2 separate regions of the Homo sapiens genome follow, and region 1 is linked to region 2. The links are contacts of gene promoters, found by promoter capture Hi-C in blood cells and fetal thymus (Javierre and others, 2016). All regions are on one chromosome and are shown on one strand. Each heading gives the region's core, a stretch centred on a gene start or on the middle of the fragment in contact. The rest is flanking DNA. Distances are from core to core; before and after follow the strand shown.

The links. The method cuts DNA at HindIII sites, captures the fragments that hold promoters and counts their contacts. A CHiCAGO score of 5 or more calls a contact.
Region 1: a contact is called between a fragment that was not itself captured here and the fragment with the promoter of RAB39B in region 2, in 2 of 17 cell types (monocytes and M1 macrophages). The highest score is 6.9, in monocytes.

The regions. Positions count from the first base shown.
Region 1 is chrX:155,813,221-155,818,078 of GRCh38, forward strand. No RefSeq gene overlaps it. Among named protein-coding and RNA genes, the nearest start is that of VAMP7, 66 kb to the right of the region's middle. The HindIII fragment of the contact is 1,781 bases long and covers 2,299-4,079 here.
Region 2 is chrX:155,262,728-155,267,614 of GRCh38, forward strand. RAB39B (RAB39B, member RAS oncogene family) reads right to left here and starts at 1,764. Exons shown (of 2, transcript NM_171998.4): 1 at 1,347-1,764. The coding sequence starts at 1,561. RefSeq lists silencers at 1,542-1,751, 1,762-1,811. The HindIII fragment of the contact is 10,241 bases long and covers 1-4,887 here.

The DNA of each region.
Region 1 (4,858 bases), core at 1,939-4,438, 550 kb after region 2:
GAATTTGGGAATCCTAGGACTCCAACTTACAAAGGATGTTAAGGACCTCTTCAAGGAGAACTATAAACCACTGCTCAATGAAATAAAAGAGGACGCAAACAAATGGAAGAACATTCCATGCTCATGGATAGGAAGAATCAATATCGTGAAAATGGCCATACTGCCCAAGGTAGTTTAGAGATTCAATGCCATCCCCATCAAGCTACCAATGACTTTCTTCACAGAATTGGAAAAAAATACTTTAAAGTTCATATGGAACCAAAAAAGAGCGCACATTGTCAACACAATCCTAAGCCAAAAGAACAAAGCTGGAGGCATCATGCTACCTGACTTCAAACTGTACTACAAGGCCACAGTAACCAAAACAGCATGGTACTGGTACCAAAACAGAGATATAGACCAATGGAACAGAACAGAGCCCTCAGAAATAACACCACACATCTACAACCATCTGATCTTTGACAAACCTGACAAAAACAAGAAATGGGGAAAGGATTCCCTGTTTAATAAATGGTGCTGGGAAAACTGGCTAGCCATATGGAGAAAGCTGAAACTGGATCCCTTCCTTACACCTTATACTAAAATTAATTCAAGATGGATTAAAGACTTAAATGTTAGACCTAAAACCATAACAACCCTAGAAGAAAACCTAGGCAATACCATTCAGGACATAGGCATGGGCAAGGACTTCATGACTAAAACACCAAAAGCAATGGCAACAAAAGCCAAAATTGACAAATGGGATCTAATTAAACTAAAGAGCTTCTGCATAGCAAAAGAAACTACCATCAGAGTGAACAGGCAACCTACAGAATGGGAGAAAATTTTTACAATCTACCCCTCTGACAAAGGGCTAATATCCAGAATCTTCAAGGAACTTAAACAAATTTACAAGAAAAATTCAAACAACCCCATCAAAAAGAGGGTGAAGGATATGAACAGACACTTCACAAAAGAAGACATTTATGCAGCCAACAGACACATGAAAAAATGCTCATCATCACTGGTCATCAGAGAAATGTGTATCAAAGCCAAAATGAGATACCATCTCACACCATTTAGAATGGCGATCATTAAAAAGTCAGGAAACAACAGGTGCTGGAGAGGATGTGGAGAAATAGGAATGCTTTTATACTGTTGGTGGGAGCCTAAACTAGTTCAACCATTGTGGAAGACAGTGTGGCAATTCCTGAAGGATTTAGGACTAGAAATACCATTTGACCCTGCGATCCCATTACTGGGTATATACCCAAAAGGTTGTAAATCATGCTACTATAAAGACACATGTACACGTATGTTTATTGTGGCACTATTCGCAATAGCAAAGACTTGGAACCAACCCAAATGTCTGTCAATGAGAGCCTCGATTAAGAAAATGTGGCACATATACACCACGGAATACTATGCAGCCATAAAAAAGGATGAGTTCATGTCCTTTGTAGCGACATGGATGAAGCTGGAAACCATCATTCTCAGCAAACTATCGCAAAGACAGAAAACCAAACACCACATGTTCTCACTCATAGGTGGGAATTGAACAATCAGAACACTTGGACACAGGGCGGGGAACATCACACACCGGGGCCTGTCGTTGGGTGGGAGCATGGGGGAGGGATAGCATTAGGAGAAATACCTAATGTAAATGATGAGTTAATAGGTGCAGCAAACCAACATGGCACATGTATACATATGTAATAAACCTGCATGTTTTGCACATGTACTCTAGAACTTAAAGTATAATAATAAAATAATAAGTAAAAAAATAAATAAAAATAAAAATAAAGAATTACTGGCCAGGCGTGGTGGCTCACACCTGTAATCCCAGCACTTTGGGAGACCGAGGTGGGCGCATCACAAAGTCAGGACATCGAGACCATCCTGGCCAACATGGTGAAACCCTGTCTCTACTAAAAATACAAAAATTAGCTGGGCGTGGTGGTGGGTGCCTGTAGTCCCAGCTACTCGGGAAGCTGAGGCAGGAGAATTGCTTGAACCCAGGAGGCAGAGGTTTCAGTGAGCGGAGATTACACCACTGCACTCCAGCCTGGGAGACAGAGTGAGACTCTGTCTCAAAAAAAAAATTACTATAAAGCTACAGTAATCAAAACAGTGTGGTTCTGGCAAAGGGATAGACAAATAGATCAATGGAGCAAAATGAGACCATAAGTATGCCCACACAATTAGGGGTCAATTGATTTTTGGCAAAGATGCAAAAGCAATTTAGTGGAGGAACAACAAATGATGTTGCAACAATGGTACATCGATATGCAAATGAGAAAACAAAACAAAAAGCCCTCAAGCTTAACCTCATACCTTATACAAAAATTAACTCAAAATAGACCATAGAAATAAAAATGTACAATGCACATTTATATGCAGAACCGTATTCTCTTATACCACTTGAATTTTTAAAGTAACAAAAGGAGAGTCGTATACATCTATATATGCTCATGAATGAGTTAATACTCTGGAAGGATAGACTTGAAACCATTAGCAATTTCCTCGTGGTTGGGAAGAGAATGAATGATTTTACTTTACATTTTATCTGTTTCTGGGATATTTCCTTCTATTAAAAAAGCATCTTTTTCTCTTATAGCAAGAAAGAAACATCTTAAAATTTTTAATTAACAAACAATAATAATAGTATACATTATACATTTATGGGGTACAATATGATGTTTTAATTTTTTTAAAAAAAATTGACAATATCAAGTGCTGGGCAACTGGGTCTGTCATACATTACTAGGGGAATAAAAAATGGTGCATCCACTCTGCAAAATGGTTTGGTAGTTTCCTACAAAGTTAAACATAGACTTACCATGTGACTCAGCAATTCCATTCCTGAGTTTCTGTCCTAGAGAAATGAAAACTTATGTCTGAACACCAATGCTTATACCTGCACTATTCATAATTGCCCCAAACTAGAAAGAATCCAAATGTCCTTCAATAAGTGAATACATGAATAAACTGTGGCACAACCACACAATGAAATACTACTCAGAATACAAAGCCCAAACTATTGATACACACAACAGTTTGGATGACTCTTAAAGACATTATGTTGCATAAAAAAGCCAGTCTCAAAAGACTGCATACTGCATTATATCATTTATATAACGTTCTGAAAAAGCAAGACTATAAAGATATAGAACACACTTTGGGAGGCCGAGGCGGGTGGATCACGAGGTCAGAAGATTGAGACCATCCCGGCTAACATGGTGAAACCCCATCTCTAATAAAAATACAAAAAAAATTAGCCAGGCATTGTGGCGGGCGCCTGTAGTCCCAGCTACTCGGGAGGCTGAGGCAGGAGAATGGCGTGAACCCGGGAGGTGGAGCTTGCAGTGAGCTGAGATCGTGCCACTGCACTCCAGCCTGGGCGAAAGAGTGAGACTCCTCTGTCTCAAAAAAAAAAAAAAAAAAAAAGATATAGAAATAGAACAGGTTGCCAGCATTTATGGGTAGGAGGAGGGATGACTATAAAGTGGTAGAATGGTAGAATGAGGAAGTTTTATGTTAAAATTATTATATGTCCTGATGTAGTAGTGATAACATGTCTCCATACATGTGTTAAAATTCATAAAACTGTACATCAAGATATTTAAAAATCAATTTTTCTGGTGATTTAAAATAATATTAAAAATATTTTAGGTTAAAATCCATTTTTAATGTTAAGTGATAAAAAGTCCACTGCTTTTCTTGCTACACCAGAAATTGAAAACACAAGTTATTTCCAGAGGTCAAACAGGTAAAATAACTGTAAGTTTTCCAGGTATAAGAAAATAGGGAATGGTAAAGACTGTGTTTGAATTATAGTGTGTGTCCTAACCGAAGACATTCAAAACCAATTAAAAACAAAGAAGCAAGACTGTGTGTACACACACACATGCACACACACACACTCTGAAGCCCCCCACACTGTATGTTGTTTTTAGATTATTTTATGTAATCATATAACTTCAACTACCATGTGAATTTTCTTTTAATGACTGCTACCCAGATCTTACCTTGAAGTTCAAACGTATTATCCTCACATGCCTTCTGGATATCTCCAACTATATTTTTCATTGGTATTTAAAAGCTTAACATGACCAAAAATGAAGTAAACTGTATGGCCATCTTTTGGGCCTGAGAAACAGTCCCATAGGCTATGCCCAGTCTGAGGCTGGTAAGCAACCATGGGTTCATGCCCCCAGCTGGAGAAACAACCCTGTAGCTCCATCCCCAGGGAGTCAGACTCTAAGTTGGCTGACCCGCCATGTGCACACCTCACCACTGACCTGAGAAACAGCCTGATGAGCTGTTTCTAAAAAAGCAAAGCCACACCAGTACTGCCAGTACAAACTCTCTTAGCCTAGACCAATGAGACCCTTGCAAACATCACCGGTGTGGATTACAGCTAAAGAAACTACATGGAGACTATATTACTGCATCCACCCAGAACCAACCCAACACACCCCACTGACCTGATCTATATGAATAAGATTATATCTTATTCAAGACCTCAAGACTCATCTATATGAATATATCTTTCCCTACAAAACCTACTCCATAAAATTGGAAGAGGTGACTTTTCCACCAGATGTGTACAAATTGACATAGGGACACATCAAACATGAAAAAGCATAGAAACATGACACCTCCAAGGGAACATAATAATTCTCCAGTAACAGACCCCAATCATAAGGAAATATATAAAATGTCAGAAAAAAATTCAAAATAATAATCTTAAGAAACCTCAATGAGATATAAGAGAATACAGGTAGACAATACAAAAAATCAGGAAAATAATTCATGTCTTGAATGACAAATTCAACACAGCGATAGATATCATAAAAATGAACAAAACAGAAATCCC
Region 2 (4,887 bases), core at 514-3,013:
CTTAATCTATAAAGTACTCTTACAAGTCCATATTGCCCAATAAATAAATAAGCAGTGGATATGAACAGGCTGTTCATATAGAAAGAAATTCCAACAAACACATAAAAGATACCTTTCTTTGCTTAGGAGAAATGCAATCGCAAGTTCAAAGTGAACCTGTACAAGGATATTTTCCACAGTGGTGTTTGTGGAAGTGGGGAGCTGGAGGTAACTTAAGTTTGTAATTATTTCTTCTCCTTACCCCTCTTCAATTACCCAACCAGTATCTTCTATGCTTAGTTAGTTTTCAATAGATAAATGAGTAAATGATCATAAACTTGGGCTATTGAGTTTTCTTGATCTGGTTCCTGCTGCTCTACTTTAGTTCAAATTGTTCTCTGCAAAGTTTTCTGTGTACACTCTGCTCCCTCTCACTTCTGTCTTTATTCATGCTGTTTCCTATCCCTGGGCGTTTCCTGTCTTTGCTTAGGCAGTCATACTCATCCGGTCTCATCTTCTCCAGTTAACCTTTCCTCCTCTGTGTTCATACATATAATTACAAATAATACATGCTACAATAGAAAAGCAAAGGGTTCTGAGTGAAAGTAAACATATTCATTGATTATTCAATGAATTCATTGATTGAAATTAAGCATGTTCATTTTGTGCCAAGTGTTACAGTAGGGAGTGGGCATACAAATATGAGCAAGACACACTTTCGTAATTGCTGATTATCTATTTCCCTCAACTATGTTAGCACAGAAGTTCCAAGAATGAAGGGGCTTTGTCTGTTTAGATTACATGGCATCCCCTTGTGTGAGTCTCCTCACACTGTTTTCCCAGGAACAAGCCCAGAGTCTGGCACATAGTAGATGATCACTGAATGTGTGCTGGTTGCAAGAAGGAATCAATCGTATCTATTTCATGTTAGAACATATGTTAGCATATATATGTGCACACACACAGATGTGGAAATAAAACATAATACACATGTATTTATGTATTTAAATCTCTGTCAGTTATGTTAGGATGACCTGGGAACGTTTTTGAAAGTATGTAACATAGGGACTGAGATTGATGAATTACAGATACAGAGATCAATTCCAGCTAGTTTGTTAGCCACCAAAGGGCAGGTTGGTGGAGTTGTGGTGCAAGCAATATGTGTTATTGACCGGCCTTCCCTGCCAGGGCGCTTCTTTCCTTGCACTAAACTCCGGGTTAGCCGAAGGTGGGCTTCGGCAGAATCCTCAAGACCCTTGGTGTTGCCCTCCTGGACCGCACCTAGAACCAGGAAGTCCTCTCTCCCCAGAGGCGGTGCAAACCCCGAAGACCCTCCCACTGCTTGCGGGCCCGGACTGCGCTCCCACCTGAACCTCTCTTGACCCGCGGTATCCCAGATCTGGAGCTTGATGCGTTTTCCTGGCTCGATCTCCACCAAGCGGGAGAAAAAATCCACCCCCACGGTGGGGTCAGAAACCTGGGCAAAGCGACCCTCGGTGAAGCGGCGGATCAGGCAGGACTTGCCCACTGTGGAATCCCCGATGACAATGAGCCGGAACTGGTACAGCCAGATGGCCTCCATGGCCGCGGCTCTGCAGGTCTCCTTGGCCCGGACCGGGGACGGCGGGAGGGGGCGCCCCGCCGACGCCTCAGAGAGCGCGGCTCGGCAGGATCTAGCTCAGCCGCGAGCGCATCGCTGGCCTGGGAGCCCGAAGCTGGGTAGGCCCAGGCGCCGGGAGAGCGGAGGGATGGATGCTGCGCTCGCAAAGGTGATGAAATGGCAGCAGCATCAGCACCACGCACTCTGACTCATCACTGACAACCGGGTTACTGTAATCCCCCGCGTAGACGCGACGCCTGGGCCGCCGCACTATCTGTAAGAGGAGCGCACACAAAATGGCTGCAACATTAGCGCGATCCCTCCCTTTCTAACTACCCCACCCACCCTCTGTTCATTAAAACTGTTCTCTGTCGTTCAAACTGCCAATGTCATACCTTTTCATTGAAACTAGCAAAGCAATACAAAACTGCACAAAAAAGGGAAGGCACATAATTATATATTAGTCTACAAGTGTTTCCATGCTCACATAAACACACAAATATTATATGTGTTTGTATTCCTATATGCATTTATTGCTGTTTGTTTTTACAAAAATTAAACTGGGGCCTTACTTTCAATTAATAATTGCTTTTTGCAATTAATAAAGCAACATAAATATCTTTCCATTTCCACCTAATTTCCCTTTTGTCATAACTTATTTTAAAGTGTAGCCACAAGTATTTTATTTCTGTGAGCTACAGTCTTAAAAAAGGGGCCATGAATTCAAAGAGTATAAGTATTTTAAATTTAACGGACATGGGCATTCTACTTTCCAAAACTATTTAACAGTTTAAATTCTACCCAGCAATGTGTGAAAAGACCATCGCTCTGCATTATTTCAAGCATCATATGTATGTTTTATTCTTTCTTAATTCTTCTCAATAGAATTTAGTTAAATAAAAATATGTCTCATTGCTTTATTTTTACATTTCTCTGACTACTGATGAGGTCAATACCAAGTCTTGTGTATTGACCATTTCATTTCCTCTTCTGGGAATTGTCTCTTCATATCCTTTGTATTTTTTATGTGTAATTTTATTTTATTTTTTTTTTGAGACAGAGTCTCTCTCTGTCGCCCAGGCTGGAGTGCAGTGGCGCGATCTCGGCCCACTGCAACCTCTACCTCCCGGGTTCATGCCATTCTCCTGCCTCAGCCTCCCGAGTAGGTGGGACTACAGGTGCCCGCCACCACGCCCGGCTAATTTTTTGTATTTTTAGTAGAGATAAGGTTACACTGTATTAGCCAGGATGGTCTCGATCTCCTGACCTTGTGATCTGCCCGCCTCGGCCTCCCAAAGTGCTGGGATTACAGGCGTGAGCCACCGCGCCCGGCCTTCTATGTGTAATCTTTTATCGTTGCCTTACTCTTTAAAAAAAATCAGCTTCATTAACATGAAAATTCACATACTGTACAATTCACCCATTTAAAGTGAACAATTCTTAGCATAGGTTTTTAATATACTCACAGATATATACAACTATCACCACAGTTAATTTTATAACATTTTTATCACTTCAAAAAGTAACCCAGAGGGGTGGGGGGAGGGGGGAGGGATAGCATTAGGAGGGATTACATTTACCTAATGTAAATGTAAATGACGAGTTAATGGGTGCAGCACACCAACATGGCACACGTATACATATGTAACAAACCTGCACGTTCTGCACAGGTACCCTAGAACTAAAAGTATAATAAAATATGTATATATATTTTTTAAAAAAAGGAACCCAGAACCTTTTAGCTATCATCTCTCTATCCCATGTTCCTCCAGCCTTTGGCAACCATTAATGTACTTTCTGTCTCTATAAATTTCCCTATTCTGAACATTTCATATACATGAAATCATATAATATGTGCATTTTTGTGACTGGCTGCTTTCACTTAGCATAATGTTTTCAAGGTTCATTCACACTGTAGCAAGTATCAGTACTTCATTCCTTTTTGTGGCTGAATACTATTCCATCATATGGATAGACCATATCTTGTTTATCCATTCATTCATTGAGGGACATTTGGGTTGTTCCCACCTTTTGGCTATTCTAAATAATCCTACCATCGAATATTCATGTGCCAGGTTTTTTTTTTTAATATCTGTTTTCAGTTTTTTGGGATTTATACCTAAGAACGGAATTCCTCAGTCCTGTGGCAACTCTATGTTTAACCCTTTGATGAAATGCCTGACTTTTTCACAGTGGCTGTACCATATTACATCCCACTGGCAGCCTATGGGGTTCCAATTTCTCCACATTCTCTCTAACATGGATGTGAAGTGGTACTTTATTCTAGTTTGATTTGCATTTCCCTAACGACTGATGACTTCAAGCATATTTTTACATTCTTATTGGCCATTTGTGTATCTTCCTTGGAAAAATATTGACTTAGATCTTTTGCCCATTTTTAAACTGGATTACTAGTCTTTGTATTATTGAGTTATAAGAGTTCTTTATATATGCTAGACACAAGTCCTTTATCACATATATGATTTGCAAATATTTTCTCCAATTCAGTGTGTTCTTTTTTTTCACTTTCTTGAGGGTGTCCTTTGAAAAACAAAGTTAGATTTTTAAGAAGTACAATTTATCGAGTTTCTATTTTGTTGCTCATGCTTCTGGTGTCATGTCTAAGAATACTTTGCCCAATCCAAGGTCATGAAGGTTTACTCATTCTTTCTTCTAAGAGTTTTATAGTTGTAGTTCATTCATTTAGGTCTATGATCCATTTTGTGTTCGTTTTTATGCATGGTGTGAGGAAGGGGTTCAAATTCATTCCTTTGCATGTGGATATCCAGCTATCCCAGCACTCTATTGAGGATACTATTCTTTCTCTATGGAATGATTTTGACACTCTGGAAAATCAATTGACCATGGATGTATGGATGTATTTTTGGACTTTCTATTTCTATGTTAATAAAGCTGATTTGTTTTAAAACAGTAAGGCAATGATAAAAGATTACACATAAAAAATACAAAGTATATAAAGAGACAATTCCCAGAAGAGGAAATGAAATGGTCAATACACATTGGTCTATATGTCTGCCCTTATGCTGGTATGACACTCTCTTGACTGTTGTAGCTTTGTAGAAAGTTCTGAAATCAGAAAGTGTGAGTCCTCCTACTGTGGAGGATCCAATCTTTTCAAAGATTGTTTTGGTTATTTGGAGCCCTTTGCAATTTCATATGAATTTTAAGAACAGCTTATCAGTTTCTGCAAATAAGGCAGTTGGAATGCTAATAGGTATTGATTTGACTCTGTAGATCAATTTGGAGAGTGTTGCTGTCTTATTAAAATTAAGTCTTTCAATCCATGA